7 separate regions of the Homo sapiens genome follow, and all the other regions are linked to region 4. The links are contacts of gene promoters, found by promoter capture Hi-C in blood cells and fetal thymus (Javierre and others, 2016). All regions are on one chromosome and are shown on one strand. The core of a region is centred on a gene start or on the middle of the fragment in contact, and the rest is flanking DNA. Distances in the headings are between cores, read along the strand shown. Region 1 overlaps MKLN1 (muskelin 1). Region 2 overlaps MKLN1 (muskelin 1). Region 3 overlaps MKLN1 (muskelin 1). Region 4 holds the start of LINC-PINT (long intergenic non-protein coding RNA, p53 induced transcript). Region 5 overlaps PODXL (podocalyxin like). Region 6 overlaps MKLN1 (muskelin 1). Region 7 overlaps MKLN1 (muskelin 1).

What was found. The method cuts DNA at HindIII sites, captures the fragments that hold promoters and counts their contacts. A CHiCAGO score of 5 or more calls a contact.
Region 1: a contact is called between a fragment that was not itself captured here and the fragment with the promoter of LINC-PINT in region 4, in 4 of 17 cell types (neutrophils, activated CD4 T cells, endothelial precursors and 1 more). The highest score is 14.3, in neutrophils.
Region 2: a fragment that was not itself captured here is called in contact with the fragment with the promoter of LINC-PINT in region 4 in 17 of 17 cell types (activated CD4 T cells, neutrophils, total B cells and 14 more); the score reaches 24.9 in activated CD4 T cells.
Region 3: a fragment that was not itself captured here is called in contact with the fragment with the promoter of LINC-PINT in region 4 in 3 of 17 cell types (neutrophils, endothelial precursors and megakaryocytes); the score reaches 8.6 in neutrophils.
Region 5: a fragment that was not itself captured here is called in contact with the fragment with the promoter of LINC-PINT in region 4 in 1 of 17 cell types (neutrophils); the score reaches 6.9 in neutrophils.
Region 6: a contact is called between a fragment that was not itself captured here and the fragment with the promoter of LINC-PINT in region 4, in 16 of 17 cell types (activated CD4 T cells, naive B cells, total B cells and 13 more). The highest score is 20.5, in activated CD4 T cells.
Region 7: a contact is called between a fragment that was not itself captured here and the fragment with the promoter of LINC-PINT in region 4, in 17 of 17 cell types (naive B cells, neutrophils, total B cells and 14 more). The highest score is 28.3, in naive B cells.

What each region holds. Positions count from the first base shown.
Region 1 is chr7:131,473,285-131,475,984 of GRCh38, reverse strand. The region is part of intron 16 of MKLN1 (muskelin 1); the gene reads right to left. Among named protein-coding and RNA genes, the nearest start is that of PODXL, 82 kb to the left of the region's middle. The HindIII fragment of the contact is 4,278 bases long and covers 1-2,700 here.
Region 2 is chr7:131,427,639-131,430,338 of GRCh38, reverse strand. MKLN1 (muskelin 1) reads right to left here. Exons shown (of 18, transcript NM_013255.5): 9 at 1,194-1,306. Among named protein-coding and RNA genes, the nearest start is that of MKLN1, 100 kb to the right of the region's middle. The HindIII fragment of the contact is 5,953 bases long and covers 1-2,700 here.
Region 3 is chr7:131,489,747-131,492,446 of GRCh38, reverse strand. It overlaps MKLN1 (muskelin 1), which reads right to left. Exons shown (of 18, transcript NM_013255.5): 18 at 1-2,700. Among named protein-coding and RNA genes, the nearest start is that of PODXL, 66 kb to the left of the region's middle. The HindIII fragment of the contact is 825 bases long and covers 884-1,708 here.
Region 4 is chr7:131,108,552-131,111,327 of GRCh38, reverse strand. LINC-PINT (long intergenic non-protein coding RNA, p53 induced transcript) reads left to right here and starts at 1,403. Exons shown (of 8, transcript NR_170176.1): 1 at 1,403-1,591; 2 at 2,525-2,776. It also overlaps a transcript of MKLN1 not described here. RefSeq lists enhancers at 1-156, 2,551-2,776 and silencers at 1,048-1,197, 1,278-1,327. The HindIII fragment of the contact is 3,581 bases long and covers 1-2,679 here.
Region 5 is chr7:131,517,723-131,520,488 of GRCh38, reverse strand. The region is part of intron 1 of PODXL (podocalyxin like); the gene reads left to right. It also overlaps the pseudogene RPL31P36. Among named protein-coding and RNA genes, the nearest start is that of PODXL, 38 kb to the left of the region's middle. RefSeq lists an enhancer at 2,354-2,766. The HindIII fragment of the contact is 7,481 bases long and covers 1-2,766 here.
Region 6 is chr7:131,409,300-131,411,999 of GRCh38, reverse strand. MKLN1 (muskelin 1) reads right to left here. Exons shown (of 18, transcript NM_013255.5): 7 at 617-694. Among named protein-coding and RNA genes, the nearest start is that of MKLN1, 83 kb to the right of the region's middle. RefSeq lists a silencer at 1,924-2,124. The HindIII fragment of the contact is 4,257 bases long and covers 1-2,700 here.
Region 7 is chr7:131,392,179-131,394,878 of GRCh38, reverse strand. All of the region lies in intron 4 of MKLN1 (muskelin 1), which reads right to left. Among named protein-coding and RNA genes, the nearest start is that of MKLN1, 66 kb to the right of the region's middle. The HindIII fragment of the contact is 3,174 bases long and covers 1-2,700 here.

The DNA.
Region 1 (2,700 bases), core at 65-2,564, 360 kb before region 4:
ATATTCCTAGAATAAACCACCACTTAGTCATAGTACACTAACCTTTTAATATATTCCTAATTAACTAAAATTTTCCTAAGAATTTTACATTTATGTTCATGAAAAATATTGGTCCATGATTTTCTTTGCTTGTAACGTCTCTCTTGGGATTTTATTTTATTCTAATTTATTCTGAGATAGGATCCCACTCTGTCACCAAGGTTCAGCGTGCAGTGGTATGATCACAGCTCACTGCAGCCTCAACCTCTCTGAACTCAGGTGATCCTCCCACCTCAGCCTCCAGAGGAGCTGGGACTACAGGCATGGCACCACCCAGCTAATTTTTTGCATGTTTTTGTAGAGACAGGTTTTTGCTATGTTGCCCAAGCTGGTCTCAAACTCATGGGCTCAGGCGATCCACCCCTCAGCCTCCCAAAATGCTGTGATTACAAGCGTGAGCCACCACGCCCAGCTTCTGTTGGGATTTTATATCAAAGTTAACCTGGCTTATAAAAGGATTTAAGAAGTATTGCCTTCCTCTAATTTCTGAGAGTCTATGTAAAATTGTATTTTTTTCTTCCTTCTTTGAATGGTTGATAAAATTTACTGCTATTATGGGCCTAGAGTTTTTTTTGTTAGAAAATTTTTTATTACAAATTCAATCTCTGTAGTAGATATGGAGTTCCTTAAGATTTTCTATTTCTTCTTGTGTCAGTTTTGGTAAACTGTGTCTTTTAAAGTATTTGTCAATTTCATCAAGTTGCGGCTTGTCAATGAAGTTTTCCATACCCACTTTACTTTTAATATATGTAGGGTCTAAACTGATGCCCTCTTTTCATTTGTGATGTGGATAATTTATGTTTTCACTTTTTTTCTTGGTGATATAGTTTGGATTTGCATCCTTGCCCAAATCTCATGTTGAATTGGGGGAGGGGTTTGGTGGGGGACCATTGGATCACAGGGGCCAATTTCCCCCTTGCTGTTCTTGTGATAGTGAGTTCTCATGAGATCTGATGGTTTAAACATGTGTGGCATTTCCCCCCTCATTGTCACTCTCTCTCCTGCCATCATGTGAAAAAGGTGCTTGCTTGCCCTTCACCTTCTGCCATGACTGTAAGTTTACTGAGGACTCCCAGTCATGCTTCCTGTTAAGCCTGTGGGCCTGTGAGTCAATTAAATCTCTTTTCTTCATAAATTACCCAGTCTCAGGTAGTTCTTTACAACAGTGTGAGAACAGGCTAATACACTTGGTAAGTCTTGCTTGGGGTTTATCAATTTATTTACCTTTTCAAAAGGCCAACTTTTCACTTTTAAAATTTCTCCATTGTTTGTTTCCTATTTCATGAATTTCTTATTTCCTACTTATTTGGGGTTGAATTTGTTCCTCTTTTCTAACTCCTAAGGTGAAAAATAAATTGTATTGGCTCTACATATAGGATAAGGAGAAAACTATTATCTTAACAATCTGATTAAATAAGTGAACTGTATGTACTGGCCTAAGGATTTTAACACATACCAAGGGATATTACAGACCTCTTTCCCAAACTCTGGATTCAAATATCCAACAGTCACCTCAACATCTTAAGTTGGCTGTCTCATAGATATCTCAAACTGAACATTTCCAAATTTAAACTCCTGAATGCCAGTCAGGAGTCCCCACAAACCAGTTCCCCACAGAACTTTCTCACTTCAGTTGATAGTAACTCCATCCTTCCAGTTTTTCAGGCCAAAACCTTTGAGTCGTTTCTTTCAAACACTAGATCTAATCTATCATAAAATTCTGTTGGTTCTATCTTTAAAATATATTAAGAATCTGCTCTATTTTACTTCTCACTGCTCTACTATTACTTTGGGCTGAGCTACAGTAACTCCTTGTTGCCCAGGCTGGAGTGCTGTGGCACAATCTCAGCTCACTGCAACCTCCACCTCCCGGGTTCAAGAGATTCTCCTGCCTCAACCTCCCGATCAGCTGGGATTACAGGCGCCTCCCACCATGCCCGGCCAATTTTTTGTATTTTTAGTAGAGACGGAGTTTTACCATGTTGGCCAGGCTGGTCTTGAACTCCTGACCTCAGGTGATCCACCCACCTCAGCCTCCTGAAGTGCGGGGATTACAGGCGTGAACCACTGTGCCCGGCCCAGTACTTATTCAATTCTAATGTACTATATAATTTGCTTCTTTAATGTTTATTGTCTTTCTCCACTAAAATGTAAGTACCTCCTGGGCAGGGATCTTGTTGGGTTTGCTGATACAGCTCCTCTGCCTAGAATGCCTGACCTATTATGGGGAATCGATACACAACTGTTAAATGAATGACACCAGCACTCTGGAAACTCCGCAGAAGTGTAATGAATATAAAATGTGTTATTGTAGCTGAAAACTTATTCTCATTCCTTCTCTATTATAGAAGTCTTCTCTGAAAGTGGTATAATTGATTAGGCATCCTTTTCTCATGGCTTTTCTAGAAAAAAATATCATTTTTTATAAGATTTATTGTAAGTTCATCACCAATTCAGAACCCATGTTCTGAAGACTGGAGGAAGCCAATAACATTTTTTTGTTATATAGTTGATAGTCAGCTGTCAATGTCCTGACAACAGGCACAATGATGATGATCATAACAACTGTGAAAAAAAAAATCTAAAAAACACTTTTTGTGTTTTGAGACTTAAATGAGAAAGTCATTTAATAACATTAAATGTCTGTAAAACATATAAACA
Region 2 (2,700 bases), core at 48-2,547, 320 kb before region 4:
TTCAACATCTATTTGAAAAAATAAAAACTGTCCAGTGATTAATCCCTGGACAGTTTTTATTAACATAATTTCAGAGTAAGCAAGAACCTAGTTCCCCAGGATTAACGACACAGCACTAGATCTTTGGAAATGGCCTTCCTAGATCAAAATCAGTGGGTTATGAATTAGGCCGTTTTATCTCCTTTTCATTTGAGGCTCCTACTGTTTTGTTATAGCTCATTTGTCACTTTATATCCTGAAACAGTTTAAATGGAGAGTGCAATTAAAATGTTCTATAAAGATTTGAAAAAATAATAAATGAATTAACATTTACTTTATTCCAGGATATAATCATGCACTTAATTCAAAGCCATAAACCTAAGCCATCTTATTCACTATGGAAATGCTTTATGTATATGTGCATACACAGATCTGTACATGCATACATATATACAATTTTTATTAAAGATAATATGTATCAGCCAGGCGCAGTGGCTCACGCCTATAATCCCAGTACTTTGGGAGGCCGAGGCGGGTGGATCACGAGGTCAGGAGATCGAGACCATCCTGGTTAACATGGTGAAACCCCGTCTCTACTAAAATACAAAAAAAAATTCGCTGGGCGTGGTGGCGGACGCCTGTAGTCCCAGCTACTTGGGAGGCTGAGGCAGGAGAATGGCATGAACCTGGGAGGCGGAGCTTGCAGTGAGTCGAGATGGTGCCACTGCACTCCAGCCTGGGCGATAGAGCAAGACTCCAAAAAAAAGATAATATATATCATTTATGAAAACTGACATATAGTAAAATAACAGGAGCCAAAATAGGGAGATAGTGAGTGTCAAAAACACAATATTCCAGAAGAAATAAAAATAAGATGAATGTTAAAAATAAGAATAGAGGTAGTGGAGACATAAGCAAAAAAGACAGTTACACAGTTACATTTCTAGGCTAAAGCAGTTTAAAAACAAAATGATATAAAAATCCCCATTCCTCACTCTCTCTCTCTCTATAAAACAGATTTGGTTGTGTATCAGTAGCTGAACAGCCAGTTATAGAAGCTGAAATTCAAGAGTACTTAAAAAAAACTTGTTTACCACAAATTCTATTGCTACTACTGCTGACAGACATTAGTGAAGAATATAATCATGCCGAAAAACAAGTGCACATCTACGCCCCTTCTGTAATATAGATGTATGAAAAGTCTGAGAACTTGCCTCTTTTTCAGTGTCTCTAGAGATACATGTCCACTGGTTCTCCTTCACACTGTACGCCCAGAAGTCAGCAAGATCTTGTGTTCCATCCCAGCCACCAAACAAATAAACAGTCTCTATGAAAATCAGAAAAATATGTGTAAAAAAAAAAGGACAAAATAAGCATAAGCACCCAAACCTAGCCAGCTGTTTCTAAGGCCACTTAAGAAGCTACATCTAAATAAATTTTAAAATAAAAATTTTAACCTGGTAACTTTCTCAAATATATACTAGACTAATATTTCCTAGGCATGAATATATGAAAAGGATGCTGCAGAACCATTATTTTGAGAGATTTATAAAAATACAGATAACTAGGAGGCATGTCCCAAGATTCTGATTCCACAGGTTTTCAATGGGTAAAAATGGGTCTGTATTTGTAAAGTATCCCAGAAAAATTTAACGTGCAGCTGGTTTGGAGTTTCTGTGTTTGGCCTTGAAAACTTTACATTTACCAGCTTTTTAATAATGCAGCCACTTTTTATCCACTATGGAATTTTTTAATTCAGATTCTAAAAAATAAAACCCCCAGAGGAATATATAGTGTAAAAGTACAGCATAAGAACATTTAGCTGTTTTTGAAAAAAGTCATATTAAAGGCAATTTCTCTCTATTGCTATATCAAAAACAATGGTTAAAACTAGCTTTAAGTTAAAATTAGATATCTTAAGAAAAAGTGATCCACAGCTTTGATATTCCTATAAAAACTGGGAGAAATTTTTCCAGATATATTGTGGTACATTTAACTCATCAGAAATTATCCTTTAAGTCATTCTAAGTATCTTGAGAATTTGGTTTCTTCTGACTCTGAAATGTCTATTATATTCACAGACTTTACCGCTGACAAAACTGATTTTCTTCTTCAGTGAATAATGAATCTTTACATATAACATTGTGTATCATAGATCCTTCTTTATTTTTATTATTTATTTATTTATTTATTTTGAGACACGGTCTCTCTCTGTTGCCCATGCTGGAGTGCAGTGGTGCAATCATGGCTCACTGCAGCCTCCTGGGTTCAAGCAATCCCTCCACCCCAGCCTCTCGAGTAGCTGGGACTACAATAATGTGCCACCATGCCCAGCTAACTTTTTTTGGGGGGGTGGGGGTTACAGACAGGGGCTCACTATGTTGTCCAGGATGGTATTGAACTCCTGGCCTCAAGCAATCCTCCCACCTCAGCCTCCCAAAGTACCAGGATTATAGGCATGAGCCACCCCATTCAGCCCCTTCTTCATGCAATAATAGGCGTTTCCAATTTGGCACAGTGGCTCATGCCTGTAATCCCAGCACTTTGAGGGGCTGAGGCAGGTGGATCACAAGGTCAGGTGTTTGAGACCAGCCTGGCCAACATAGTGAAACTCCGTCTCTACTAAAAATACAAAAAAATTAGGCAGGTGTGGTGACGGGCACCTGTAATCCCAACTATTCGGGAGGCTGAGGCAGGAGAATCACTTGAACCTGGGAGGCA
Region 3 (2,700 bases), core at 47-2,546, 380 kb before region 4:
ATTCACATTCTTGAGGGGAAGAGACATATATAAGGCTGCATTATTTTTATTTAAGGAAAAAAAAAGAAAAAGAAAAGCAATCATTTCATGGCAACTGAAGCCACTTCTAATATTCAACTATTTCAGAAGTTTAAAGTCAATTCTTAACACAAATTCTAACTTCAGCAGAAATCAATGTTACTCATGGGAGGTAGGAATAGAAACAAAAAGGTTAAAAAATACAATAAAAAGAAAAGACAAAAGGTAAATGGAAATTCTGATGATATGCTGAATTCAGGAACTCTGCTATCAAACCTGTACTTTACCAATAGTTCTATGACAAGAGATCCTAATGCCAGAAAAAGAGGCCAACACAGGTTTCTCCATTAAAGCTGCCACAGCCATTATTACTATCCCCAAATGAAAATGACTCAAGTACATTTATAGCAATATCTGAATGTTATTAATTTCTTATGAATTTCATTATTCTCTTGTCATAAATAAGGATAATAGAGCATTTGCCCCAGAATGATTTTGATCTTTTTTTTTCCAAGCAATACAATGTCCTACAGAATGCCACAGAAAATCTAGGAAGTCTAGGGCTAAAAAAAAGTGAAGAATAAAGTTACATTAGCTAAGAAAAATAAATGGAAAAACAATTCACAGTATTTGGTGGATAGAAGGAAACCAAAGTTTTAAAAATCATATATAAATAGAACCTCTAATACAGCATTTATTCAGAAAAAGAAAAAGCATTTGGTGAAGAGATCAATATACTGCAGTAATGAGTCCTCACCCAAAACAAATGAGGGCAACATCATTCACGTAAGCTAGTCAGCTTCGTATTATTTCAACAAACTTGGAAATGTCTGCCTTCAACCAACAGACCTCTAGACTAGAAGCTTTGGATAGCCAAGTCATTTCAGCATTAAAACAAATCACAGGGAGATAGAAGCCAGGGTCTAGAACCACAAAAGAATAGCGTTATTTGACTAATAAGGATAACAAAAATCTTTTGTGTTAAAGCATCCAAAGACCTAATCTGTAAGTACTATCATATGTAGACACTGTATGATACTCCTCCAGCCATAAACTTTTTCTGGGCAGCCTTCACATCCTAGATCGGGGCTACCTTAGGAATTCAAAACTTGGTGAGAATTCAGGCAAGAATTTCTACAAAGGGATGAGATTGTGGATGAATGTGGAATTTTAAGAAAAGAAGGGTTAGGAAGGGTGTTTTTTTTTTAATAGTTAGATGACTTTATTTAGAATATACATTGCAATGATTCCCTCCCACAGAAATCACTTCAAACCGTAATTCTCAAATACTGTGCAACATTCAACCAGCTAAGGATTTCACGTGACTTTCAGGAAATAAATGACCCACAATTACCCAGTGAATTCCATGTAGTGTTAAGAATAATTGCAGGTAACTTCTTCATGTAATTACCATGAAATTGAGTATAATTTAGAGAATAAAATCAGGAACATACTCCTAATTGCTTTTTTGATCCATTAAGCATCATTCTCAATCTCTCACTAAATGCTTGGGTGCCTCAAACTAGTTTTTGTTTATAGGCTAGATTTTAAAACACTGTTTTATTATAACTCTGTTAATGTATCTCTACATAGCACTTTTAAGGCAGATGTGAAGAGATCAACTGGAATAAGCTGCCAACCATTTATATACAATATAAATATTTTGCCCAAGAATGCAGTTTTACAAGCTTAAATCACTGAGCTCTAAACCCATCAAACTTTTCTATGATAAACCAGTGACTTTTTAATGTATTCTATCAGTTTTTACTTATTAGACATGGACAGGTCTGTTTTCATATAAATGAAAATCAGGTCTAAAAGATGGCCTTGATAAGAGTTAATACTGTCTGTCAGCTTCAGCACAGAGGTAGGCATTTAAGTCTGAATTCCTTTGCTTGAATAAGAGTGATACATTCTTCAATCAATCAAACTGGCCACATGAGGTCTCTGCCATTACCAAAATAAAATGCAAATGCACTTAAGAGGTGTCTTGAAAATCAGATTATTTCTCATGAAGTACAAGCACTGAAAATAATGTTGGATATCTACTTTAATTTCTGGTTGAAAACAATGTATTATACTAGGAAAAAGGATAAATGAGGTTGAAGCTGGAGATAATACAAATGAGAAAACTGTATCCCACTTAATTTATGTGTCTAAAGTGTTAGCCAGGTGTTTCAATTAGGGATTCACCTAGGCTAGAATAATTGTTAGGTAGTAAAGCATATACACTTGGCTATATAAACAATGTACCTAAATACCAAATTCGATTATTTAAATTATAATCTATGCTGGAATTCTTGGAAATACATGTAGCTCCTCACTAAATTGTGACATGTTGTGAGCAACATGTCAATCTTGGTCATGGATATATGAAGCACTACATTCTCTGCAATCATTTCCAGCAGTGCTCCGATTAAAGCCCCACAGTACAGAGTCTGACTTTTCAATTATCTCCTCAGTACATCTATCTCACTTTGGCAAGAGCAAATGGCTCGCTATGATTCAACCCCATTTAAACATGGCGGTGAGCAAAAAATTTCAGAAATGAAGGGGGAAAAATTCTACCTAAATAAAGTGAGGGAAGATGAAATTAAAACAAACATGTTTTCCAAAAAGACTAGTAGGGAAACATTTAGGGAAAAACAAAAATAAAATTACTGAGGTCAAGAACTTAGTTTC
Region 4 (2,776 bases), core at 154-2,653:
CAAGAATGCCTTTAACCCGATGCCATTCATTTTAATAACACCCTGAGCAGTTTGATTTCCACGGAACACGCTGGTGATTAGAGAGCAGCAGGAGCTTGGGTTCCCTAGCAACAGCATGTGCTTTTGAGACAGTCATTAGCCTTTCAGTTAATCCCATCAACCCCTTACCTCTAAATGTATGACTGACATAAAAAAAATGATGTTTTAGAAAGTGCTTTGAAATTTCCAGGAGTGCAATGGAAGGGAATAATCATAATTAAAAAGTTGTCTGGAGAACTACACTCCAGTGAAGGAAGTAATGTTCCTACGTGCCAAGCCTGTCCGTATATTTCCCTGCTCTCAGTTGTAGGTTTCTGAATCCCCTGTGGCAAAGGGCAAGGGAGGTGAAATTGTTCAGAGTTTCAGGCAGTCTTCTCACCTAAAGTGAGTAGTATTGCAATGTCTCTTGGAATCATGGCTCTGAAGATGAGGAGAGAAGCGGGATGGGCAGTTTGTGTGGTGAGGAGGCTGGCTGCAGGTAGGCTGGGAGGGAATGTCACACATAGTTTTCTTTCTCCTTTAAGCCGAATGAGGTATGCTGGTCAAAGGAACTTGGGGAAGGAGGATGGTGAGGGGAATGAAGTTCTTCTTCCTATTGATTGTTTTGTTGCACCAGAGGCTGTTTGTCCAAGGCCACTGGCCAAGAGCATTATTTTCGTGGCTAAAGTGAGGTTGGGCAGGTTTCCCATCCCTTTCACTAGTTTTGAACAAGACAACCCAGAAAGCGCAGCAAGGCTCTGGGAATATGATGTGGGTTGGCTTTTCCTACTCAGCTGCACCTTAAAGCGCCAGGCCGATGGGCTGATACTTCTCAAACCCTGAATCATTGCCTCCAGCTCTGTCCTGGGTTCAGGATGCACCACTCCACCCTCTGTGTAGCTTGGGGTCAACTTCGGGGCGTCACTCCAATAGTAATTATTGCTGCGTTTGGCTGGACATCCTTATTACGGCCTGGGTCCCTCTCAGCTGGAAACTGGGCTCCTTCAGTTTGGCTGGGGTGACTTCTAGCACTTCCCGCCGCCCCACCTTACCCCCCTGCGCGCTCCCTTCCCAAGGCGACCACCTGCACCGCCCCACTTACCATCTGCCCCGCGGGGAGGGCCCCCCGGGCTAGCGGAGCCCTCCCTGCTCCCGGGCGGCTCTGGAGGAGCTCGGTGTTTGCCTCTAGCCCTTCGCTACCGGAGGATCAGGTTCCTCCCCTCCTCCCCCTCCAGCTCCGGCCGCCGCCGCCGCCGCCGCCGCCTCCTTCTTGCATGACACAGCAGAACCGCAGCTGCTGCAGCAATTTCAAGCCATCCGCCCAGGAAGCGCCGCAACCGGGACTCGGGAGGGGTGGAGGGGGCGAGGCAGAGGCCGCGGCCCCAGGGGATCCTTGGCCCCACTGTGCACCACACACTCCTTTCCCAGCCCAGGGGCACGCGAACAAAATGAGGCTCAAGCTGACCAGGCCGAGCCGGAGGAACGCTGGGGCTTGGCAGCAGAAGGGATGGGACCAGAGAGAAGGGTGTGGAGGAGACCCCAGTGAGGGCCAGGACATTTCAGGTAAAGAGAGGTAAGAAGAGGCCCAGAAGTCAAGGGCCAGACTGTGAAGGTGATTAGAGGTCAAAAGAGGTAAGGAGGTAGAGTTGCAAAGAAGAGAGGCCGAGCTGGGAAGGGCGTGGGGGTGGGGGTAGCTGCAGGGGAGGGTGGGGGGTACAGTCTTTGGGGAGGCCCGAGCTGAGCCCCCAGGCAGAAAAGGGGCTGAGTTGGGAGGCAAGGGAGGTAGGAGGAAAGGGATGAAAAGAATTAGGCATGAGATAGGAAGGTAAAACTTGGGAGAGATATTATAGAATTAGAAGGGTTGGAATGGAGCTCATTCATCATGGCTGATGAAGTAAACTGATGAGGTGGAGAGAGACAGAGTCAAGGCAAGGCCAAACGAAAAGATCTTCCATCCCACTCTTCAGTTTCTTGCGAAGTTTTTCTTGATTCCGCCAATCCACACAGTTTCCTTTATAAAATGGAAAAGCATGAACTAAAAAACCCAGAAATAGCTATCTGGCTTAGATTTACAGGATAAAATCTCCATGTCTGTAAAAACTTTAAGGCAGAAATTTGGGATTTATGGTACAAACCCTTTAAGGGACTGTGAGTCAGTAATACCCACAGCACTCAACATTGTGAGTTTCCACACATCCCTGGACTTGAGTGAGTCTTTCCAAGTGTTTGTTAATGGTACAAATGATGACAAAATTAGTGGTTCAAAAATATTAAAGTGCACATGCTTTTTGCTTTCTCTATGTATACAGAGATTACATATATGTATACTTTCTAGCGTCTAGCAAGTATGGTATGGCTAGGGATAATTATGTTTTTCTGATTATTTTGTTTCCCATCAAACACCCCACGAATTTTACAGCAGACCGCCTTCTTGTCACCATTTGAAAGAATGTGGTCAGAAAAGTAATGCAAAAACTGCCACTTTGGTTTTGTCTGTACCTTCCAGGTCATATCTCCGTACCTCACTTCCTGACACAAACAAGTTTTCACTGTTGTCAGCAACAAAGCCCTAATATAGCTGCGGAAGAGAAAAACTGCATTGCATTTTGCCTCCTGCAAGCATCATCAACAGTTACTGGAGGAACGTAATTCCAGAAAGCTTGAAAGCCGTGGTGATGGTAATTATGTATCAAATGCCTGGTTCTATTTCTGTTATTATTGTTTTGTCATTTCTGTTTTCCCAGCGATCTGACTGAAC
Region 5 (2,766 bases), core at 178-2,677, 410 kb before region 4:
TGTCTATAGATTTTTGAAAGTGATAACAGGCACGTGGGTAACCAAAGTATAGAGCTTGTTTGGTGAATCTTCATCCTCATTCTGTTTCCTGGACAACCGCACAGGGATAGGTATGGGACATTCTTTATTCCTTTGGCCCAGACAGCTTTGATGAGCCTGGTATCAATGCGCACATCTGGAGTTCCCATCTCTTTCATGGCAAATTTCTGGATCTCTGTGAGTGCCTGAGGGGCATGCTGCTTGAAGCCCACTCCAGGAAGCTCTTGGGATTGTTGATGGTGCATTCTCGGGTCACCACCTCGTTGATGGTAGAACGGCCTTTCTTCTCACCACCCTCTTCGCAGGAGCCATTTTACCGCACCCAAGTTGGAAAGGCTCAATTTCTTTATGATTATAGGATAAATGATTATTTCCGTTTTCCTTGAGTCACTCTGGTAAGTTTTTTTCTTTCCCAAGAAATTTGTGGCAGGGCACAGTGTCTCATATCTGTAGTCCCAGCACTTTGGGAGACTGAGGCAGATGGATCCCTTGAGCCCAGGAGTTTGAGTCCAGCCTGGGCAACATGGTGAAACCCTATCTCTACAAAAAATACAAAAATTTTAGCTGAGCGTGGTGGTACATGCCTGTAGTCCCAGCTACCCAGGAGGCTGAAGTAGGAGGATTGCTTGACCCCAGGAGATTGTAATGAGCCAAGATCACACTGTTGCATTCCAGCCTGTGGGACGGAGTGAGACTCTGTCTCAAAAAAATAAAAAAAAGAAAGAAATTTGTCTGTCTCGTCTGCTTCAGATTTATAAATATTTGCCCATAAGGTATTATGCTTTAAATAACTATTACTATTTTTGTACCTCACATTGTTTACTTATGCCTTTGGATTTTTTTTTTTCCCCTTTTGATCAACCTCTCCAAAGACTTTTTGGCACTTTATTAGCCTGTTTAAAAAAAACAATTTTTGATTTTGATATGTGCTATTGTATTTTGGTTTCTATTTCTTTGGTTGTTCTTTCATTCCTCCATTTTTTTCTTTAGGTTGTTTTGTGGCTTTCTATTGTTAGATTGAAGGTGGTAGATAGAGGACCAGGCCTGGGCTGGTCTTAAAGGAGGACAATGGAAATTGGAGCGCGGCTCACACCCTCAGAATGCCTGTTCCTACCCCCACCCATACCTAAAGGTCTCTAAGAGAATTAGTTACCCGAGATCAGCTGAATGAGGAGTGAAAAAACCAAGCCTGGTTTTATATGATTTGGGATAATATGCTAGTACCAGCCCAAACTGGACAGTGACAGGAGAAAAGCTCTATATCCTGAAGGGTGGCGTAGAAAGAAAATTCTCCCAGTGGCCAGGACTTTAAAGAATACATTTCCTGGTCTTTTGTTTTTGAAGGAAAGGTCCACTGAGGCGAGGCTCTGAACAGATTCATCAGCAGGAGCTAATCATTTTTAAAACAATGCTAGGGAACTCAGAAGGAACAGCAATGGAGAATCAGTGTGACCTGGAAGGTTAGGCAGGCCTGTGGAGGGACCCACAGGGATAGGTCTGGAGTGTGAGGATATTTGCCTGCGTCTAGAGAAAGGCTCTGGGTAATCAGATGGGCAAGATGACCCCTTCAGCATATCAGTTTTCTTCTCCATCGCCTAATGATGGCGCTGTGGATCTGTGACCAAGTGGCGTGGTGGAGGGCGGCCCGTTCTGGACCTGCGTGTGCCCTCCAGGCTGCCACGTTTCTGTCAGCGGCGCCGTTTCTGGACTTCCAGGATGCTTTATTCACCATCACAATTACCCCACAGACCATAGGCTTTACCAAGGAGCTCACTCTATGGCAGGATAAGTGGCCTGTTAAATTTTATCAGACTTAGCCTGAACCCTACATGGGGCTAAATAATGAAGCAGGAAGGAATATGGCTAGAACCCAGGGGATTCCCCATGGTGCCAGTCATAAAAGTAAATGGAAAGACCTCTTACGGACAGCATCCTTAAACACTCTCATCCCCAATAAAAGCCAGTATCCAATACTAATGTTGCCAGTGGTGCAAACTGATGCTCGATGATGGTAGAAGTGATGACCTCACCAGACCCGTTCAGGAGAAGAGGTCTTGAGCACTGTTTCTGACTTACGCTTGATTCTTTAGCCACCTCAAGTATTTTATTAGCCAACGCATTATCTTTTTAATACATTACTTTCTCTTTAAAGCAGACAGAGTTAATTTCGAATGTTTGAAAGACTCCTGGTATTTTCACGAGGATATAGGAGAGCAGATCAGGAGAGCGAATGGCATTCCCCCCGCAAAAAGACATGTTCAGGTCCTAATCTCTGGTACCTGGTACCTGTGCAGGTGACCCTACTTAGAAATAGGGTCTTTGCAGATGTAATCAAGTTAAGATGAAGTCATACTGGATTAGGGAGGGCTCTAAATCCAATGACTGGTATCCTTATAAGAGGAGAGATATACGGCCGGCCCCGATGGCTCACACCTGTAATCCCAGCACTTCAGGAGGCTGAGCAGGGTGGATCGCCTGAGGTCAGGAGTTCGAGACCAGCCTGGCCAACATGGTGAAACCACATCTCCGTTAAAAATACAAAAATTAGCCTGGTGTAGTGGTGTGTACCTGTGGTCCCAGGTACTTGGGAGGCTGAGGCAGGAGAATTGCTTGAACCCACAAAGCGGAGGTTGCAGTGAGTGGAGATTGCGCCATTGTACTCCAGCCTGGGTGACAGAGACTCTGTGTCAAAAAAAAAAAAGAGTTACGCAAGGAGGAAGGTCTTGT
Region 6 (2,700 bases), core at 33-2,532, 300 kb before region 4:
CCCTTCTACCTCAGTACCCTAAGCAGCTGGGACCACAGATGCCTGCCAACATGTCTGGCTAATTTTTTTTTTTTTTTTTTTTTTTTTTTTTTTGAGATGGAATCTCCATCTGTCTCCCAGGCCGGAGTACAATAGCATGATCTCAGCTCACTGCAACCTCTGCCTCACAGGTTCAAGTGATTCTCCTACCCCAGCCTCCCGAGTAGCTGGGATTACAGGCACACACCATCACGCCCAGCTAATTTTTGTATTTTTAGTAGAGACAGGGTTTTGCCATGTTGGGCAGGCTGGTCTTCAACTACTAACCTCAGGTGATCTGCCCACCTTGGCCTCCCACAGTGTTGGGATTATAGGTGTGAGCCACCACACTCGGCTGTATAGCTAATTTTTTGTAGAGACAGGTCTCACCATGTTGCCCAGGCTGATCTTGAACCTCTGGGCTCAAGCAATCCTCCTGCCTCGGCCTCCAAAAGTATTGGGATTAGACATGAGCCACTGCAACTGGCCAACATCTTCTTTTTTATTAACTTAGTACTATGATACTTGAACTACCTTGGGAAAACTGAAGACTGAGACATTAATGAAAAAGAACTACAATCTAGAAGGTATGGCTTACCTTTGGTACTTTTGGGAATGATTTGACTCCATCGTGGCTTATATTCCTGTTGACTGATATACTGATTGAACAAGCCATCTGCAAATATTGAAGAATGAGAAAGAATTACACCTTAACTACTTACATTATTTATTATAGAAAAAAATTAAAATTTAAAAGGCTACATTAAAAGAAATTACTAATATGTCACTAATACAAAAGCACATTTTCATAAAATATGCATCACTTCAATTTCACTTCATGCTACCTCAAATATAAATAGTAAAATATTAATTGACACAACCATGCAAACAAATTGCTTTAGGGGAAGCTCATATTAAACGTACTATGTTTCTCATCATCACTGTATGTATTAGATACAAAGTCACTGTTGCATTCAACGGACACGTATGTGACATTATCAGAGGGTTAGAGACCTTGAAAGAAGGAAAAGGGAGTGAACTGGGAGGGGAAAAAAAGTCATAAGACAATTTAAGGCTGCAAAATAGAAGCAGGAGAAAATAAAAATAAATAATCTGAATAAATGTTCTACTTCATTGAAAAAAGATCTTATATATCTTTAAAAAATCATTTCTATCATTATCATAAATATAATTAAGAAGAGGAAAGGATAACTAAAGATTAGGAGAATTATATTTTCTTTTTGTGATCTCCCACCACTTGTCTTTATTTCAACTATGAAATTCTTAATCTTTACATCCTATAATGACATGGATTCATTGGATCCTAATCTCTTTCCCCCAACAGTGCTTTGTGCCAGTACTTTTTGCCACCCATATCCAAGAGAACTAGAGAAGAAAATAGAGCTCCAATAATTTTGGTCTAGGTCCTTGATACATTTTCAGGAAAAGGGAACACTAACTTTAACATGTGAATTCCATTATTATACAGTTTTGAGTACAAAACTACATAAAGATAAAAGTACTAACAGCAGTAATAAAACTATACTTATGGAACACTTACCAAATGTTAGAATTTATGCTGTCTCATCTCATTTAATTCTAAAAACAATCCTATGAACTACACATTATCATCTCCGTTTTATAAATCCAGAAATTTGTATTTAAAAAAAGTAAGAAACTTAACCAAAATCACACAGCTCTTAAATGGTGGGGCTGGTACTAAAGTTCTACCATGTTTTCCTTACTCCTGATTCTGCTGTATTGATAAACTCATAATCTACTTAAGTTGTTACACTAGTTACTGTAATGGTATGGAGACTGAACTCCCTACATACATCCCCCCACATACACACCTAAATAATTATGAAGCCCTACTCCCATGGCCCTCAACAAAGATTAGTTTAAGAACAGTATGGAACCCAATTTTGGCTAATGAAACATGAGGAATCTTCTGGGAGACTTCTAGGCAATTTTTCCTTACTTCTAAAGAGACATACAGAAAAAAAAATCTACTTTTATTCCTCTGGAATATCTGCATGTAATGTATACAAATATTAAAGCAAATTTGTCGAAGTACAAGAATGCAGTCAATTCTATAATGATGATACAGCACAGAGAAAGAAAGAAATGATCACTGAATCAACCAACCATGAAATCTGCCTTACCTCTGGACTTCTTGCTATGTGCTACAATAACATTTCCTTACTTTTTAAGCTAGAAACCCTAGCTTTTACATGCACCCAAATAGATCATAATTTATAAAGTTACTTTTACTATTAAACTCTGTCATGTGACTCAATTTAAAAGTAAAACTGTTTTCTGCGATTTATATATTCACCAGAGACCAACCAATTTAGAGCACTCCCCCTAATCTTTCTTTTCTGGGTAATTATGAAGCTCAGTTGTAACCAACCCTTTCGCTTTCAAGACTTTTCAGCTGGCTTTAACTGGAAACCTCCATCCTACAGGCACGCTCACCAAATTTCCTTTCTTCTTTGCCTTTGAGACTTTTCAAAATTCTTGCAAAAAGTCAGTAAATACTGCAAATACTAAAGCAGGGTAAAGGTTAAAAAAATGCATTGCTTTTACTACCTTGTTTTAATGTAAAAGAACTTCCTGCAACTTTCGCAACCTAAAAACAAAGAGTTGACACCTCTGCATCCCAAATAATCTCCATGCTCC
Region 7 (2,700 bases), core at 96-2,595, 280 kb before region 4:
TGGGTAAAAAGTCCAAGATAGACCAGTGAATTTTAATGTAACAACAGATTCACTGATGCAGTTTCAGAATCAATAATGCAACTATCTTTAAGAAACTAACATTTGTAGAGTTTTGATGAAGCATCAAAATAGAATATCCAGAATAGCTGATACCAGGCGTAATGATTTCCAATATCCGACTGAATAAGGAAAATGTATGGGGTATGATACTTTTATATATTTTTGTCATCTAAAACAGGGGTCCCAAACCCCCAGGCCCAAACCTGTACAGGTCCCTGGCCTGTTAGGAACCCAGACGCATGGCAGGAGGTGCGCAGTGTGTTAAGGGAGCATTACTGCCTGGGCTCTGCCTCCTGTCAGATCAGCGTTGGCATTAGATTCTCAAAGGACTGCAAACTCTATCATGAACTGCAAATACAAGGGATCTAAGTTGTGCACTCCTTATGAGAATCTAATGCTTGATGATCTGAGATGGAAAAGTTTCATCCCAAAACCATCTCTCCACCATACCCTGCCCCAACTTCTGGGTCCACAGAAAAACTGTCTTCCACAAAACTGGTCGCTGGTGTCAAAAAGGTTGGGGACCACTGATATAAAGGAAGCTGTGTGAATAAAAACACAGGCAGTAGCAACCAGCCATAAGGATGTATGAAGGAATGCTGGGATATTTAATATGCCTTTCTGTTTATGTATGTAAACAACACACATTTCAAAAAGTTTTTTTTTAACAACAAATATTAAATTATCTTTATTGTTTTAGTGTTTCTTTATGTAGCAGTGTCATTTAAAAGTTTATCTACTAAATCACATAGCAATAACCATCTAGTAGTATAAGAGTCAGAATAAAATAATGATTCTAAACTAAAAGCACCAAGAATATAGTCTATATATGTCACCAGACATAAAATATTAGAGATTTCCAGGTCCAAGTCTCATTAAGAATTCATTTATTGGTCCTGGTGCAGTGGCTCATGTCTGTAATCCCAACACTTTGGGAGGCAGAAGCAAGAGGATCATTTGAGCCCAGGAGTTCAAGACCAGCCTGGAAATATAGTGAGACCCTATCTCTACAAAAAAAAATTAAAAATCAGCTGGGCATGATAGTATGTGCCTGTAGTCCTGGCTACTTGGGAGGCCAGATGAAGGATCACTTGAGCCCAGGAGTTCAGTGTTACAGTGAGCTATGACCACACTACTAAATTCTAGCCTAGGTAACCGAGAAAGACCCTGTCTCTTAAAAAACAAAACAAAACAAAACAAAACAAAAACCTTTTAAAACACTTGCAGTGAAATTTAATCTGTTACCCAATGGTCCAATAGAAATATTTCTAGAATAAAATTAGTTATAATTTTTAATACCTTTAAAGAATACCTTTAGAGGAAGGAGGTAAATCATGAAGTTATCTTGCCAATGGGCATATATATTACAGATGAATAAACAATATAATTAATTTTCAACAGACTAAAAGGGTATGTAAAAAATGAGCAGAATGATGTCCACTCACTTCAAACGCCAGTGATTTTTGGTAGCATTAACAATACTAATAATGCATATTAGAACACTAAGAAATCTAAAAGTGAATTAAAGCTCCAGGCACGTGTTCTTTGTTCCCTGATAAAAGATGCCTCCCTCATCAAATAAAAGAATTAGAAACTCCTAATACATATCCCAAGGCTAGCAGTTTGTATTCTAGGATTCAGTCATCAGTTTTCCCCATTGGACAATCAGACATGAATATAATCAACATCCCTGTGTCACCTTTTTTCATAAAATGGCCAGCCTGGGCAAGACAGCAAGACTCAGTTTCTACAAAAAAATTGTTTTTAAAATTAGCCAGGTGTGGTGGTGTGCTACTAGGGAGGCTGAGGCCGGAACATGGCTTGAGCCCAGGAACTGGAGGTTGCACTGAGCTCTAATTGTGCCACCTGAGCAACAGAGCAAGACTCTGCCTCTTAAAAAAAAAAAAAAAATTAGGCCAGGCGCAGTGGCTCACGCCTGTAATCCCAGCACTTTGGGAGGCCAAGGCGGGTGGATCGCCTCAGGTCGGGAGTTCAAGACCAGTCTGACCAACATGGAGAAACCCCGTCTCTACTAAAAATACAAAATTAGCCGGGCATGGTGGCGCATGCCTGTAATCACGGCTACTTAGGAGGCTGAGGCAGGAGAATCGCTTGAACCCAGGAGGCAGGAAGTTGTGGTGAGCCGAGATTGTGCCATTGCACTCCAGCCTAGGCAACAAGAGTGAAACTCCACCTCCCAAAAAAAAAAAAAAAAAGAGGTTCTGAGAGATCCTAAAAATTCAAGATTAACTATTCTGAAAGAGTGCATCTACTATTCTACTACAGATTTAATGACATAAGTATACTTAGCACAGTAACTGGCACATACTAAGTGTTCAATAAATGTTAGCTGTTATTATCTATTATTATTATATTAATTTTCCTCTTAATAGTATACTTCTAAAATGTCACTTTTCCACATGCTCTCCTAAAGGGCTTCCTGGAACTAATACCCAGACTTCATGCTCAGATTTCATGCTGCATCCAGCCAGAGTTAAAGCCGCTCTCTGAAGTCTCCACAATCATCCAGGCTGCAGCTGACTCCTTTACAAAAATCCACATCTCTCCATTTACCAAAAACCAAGACTCCCCCTGAATCCTTCCAAGACCCTGTACCTCTTTTTGCCCTCACCTACCCCT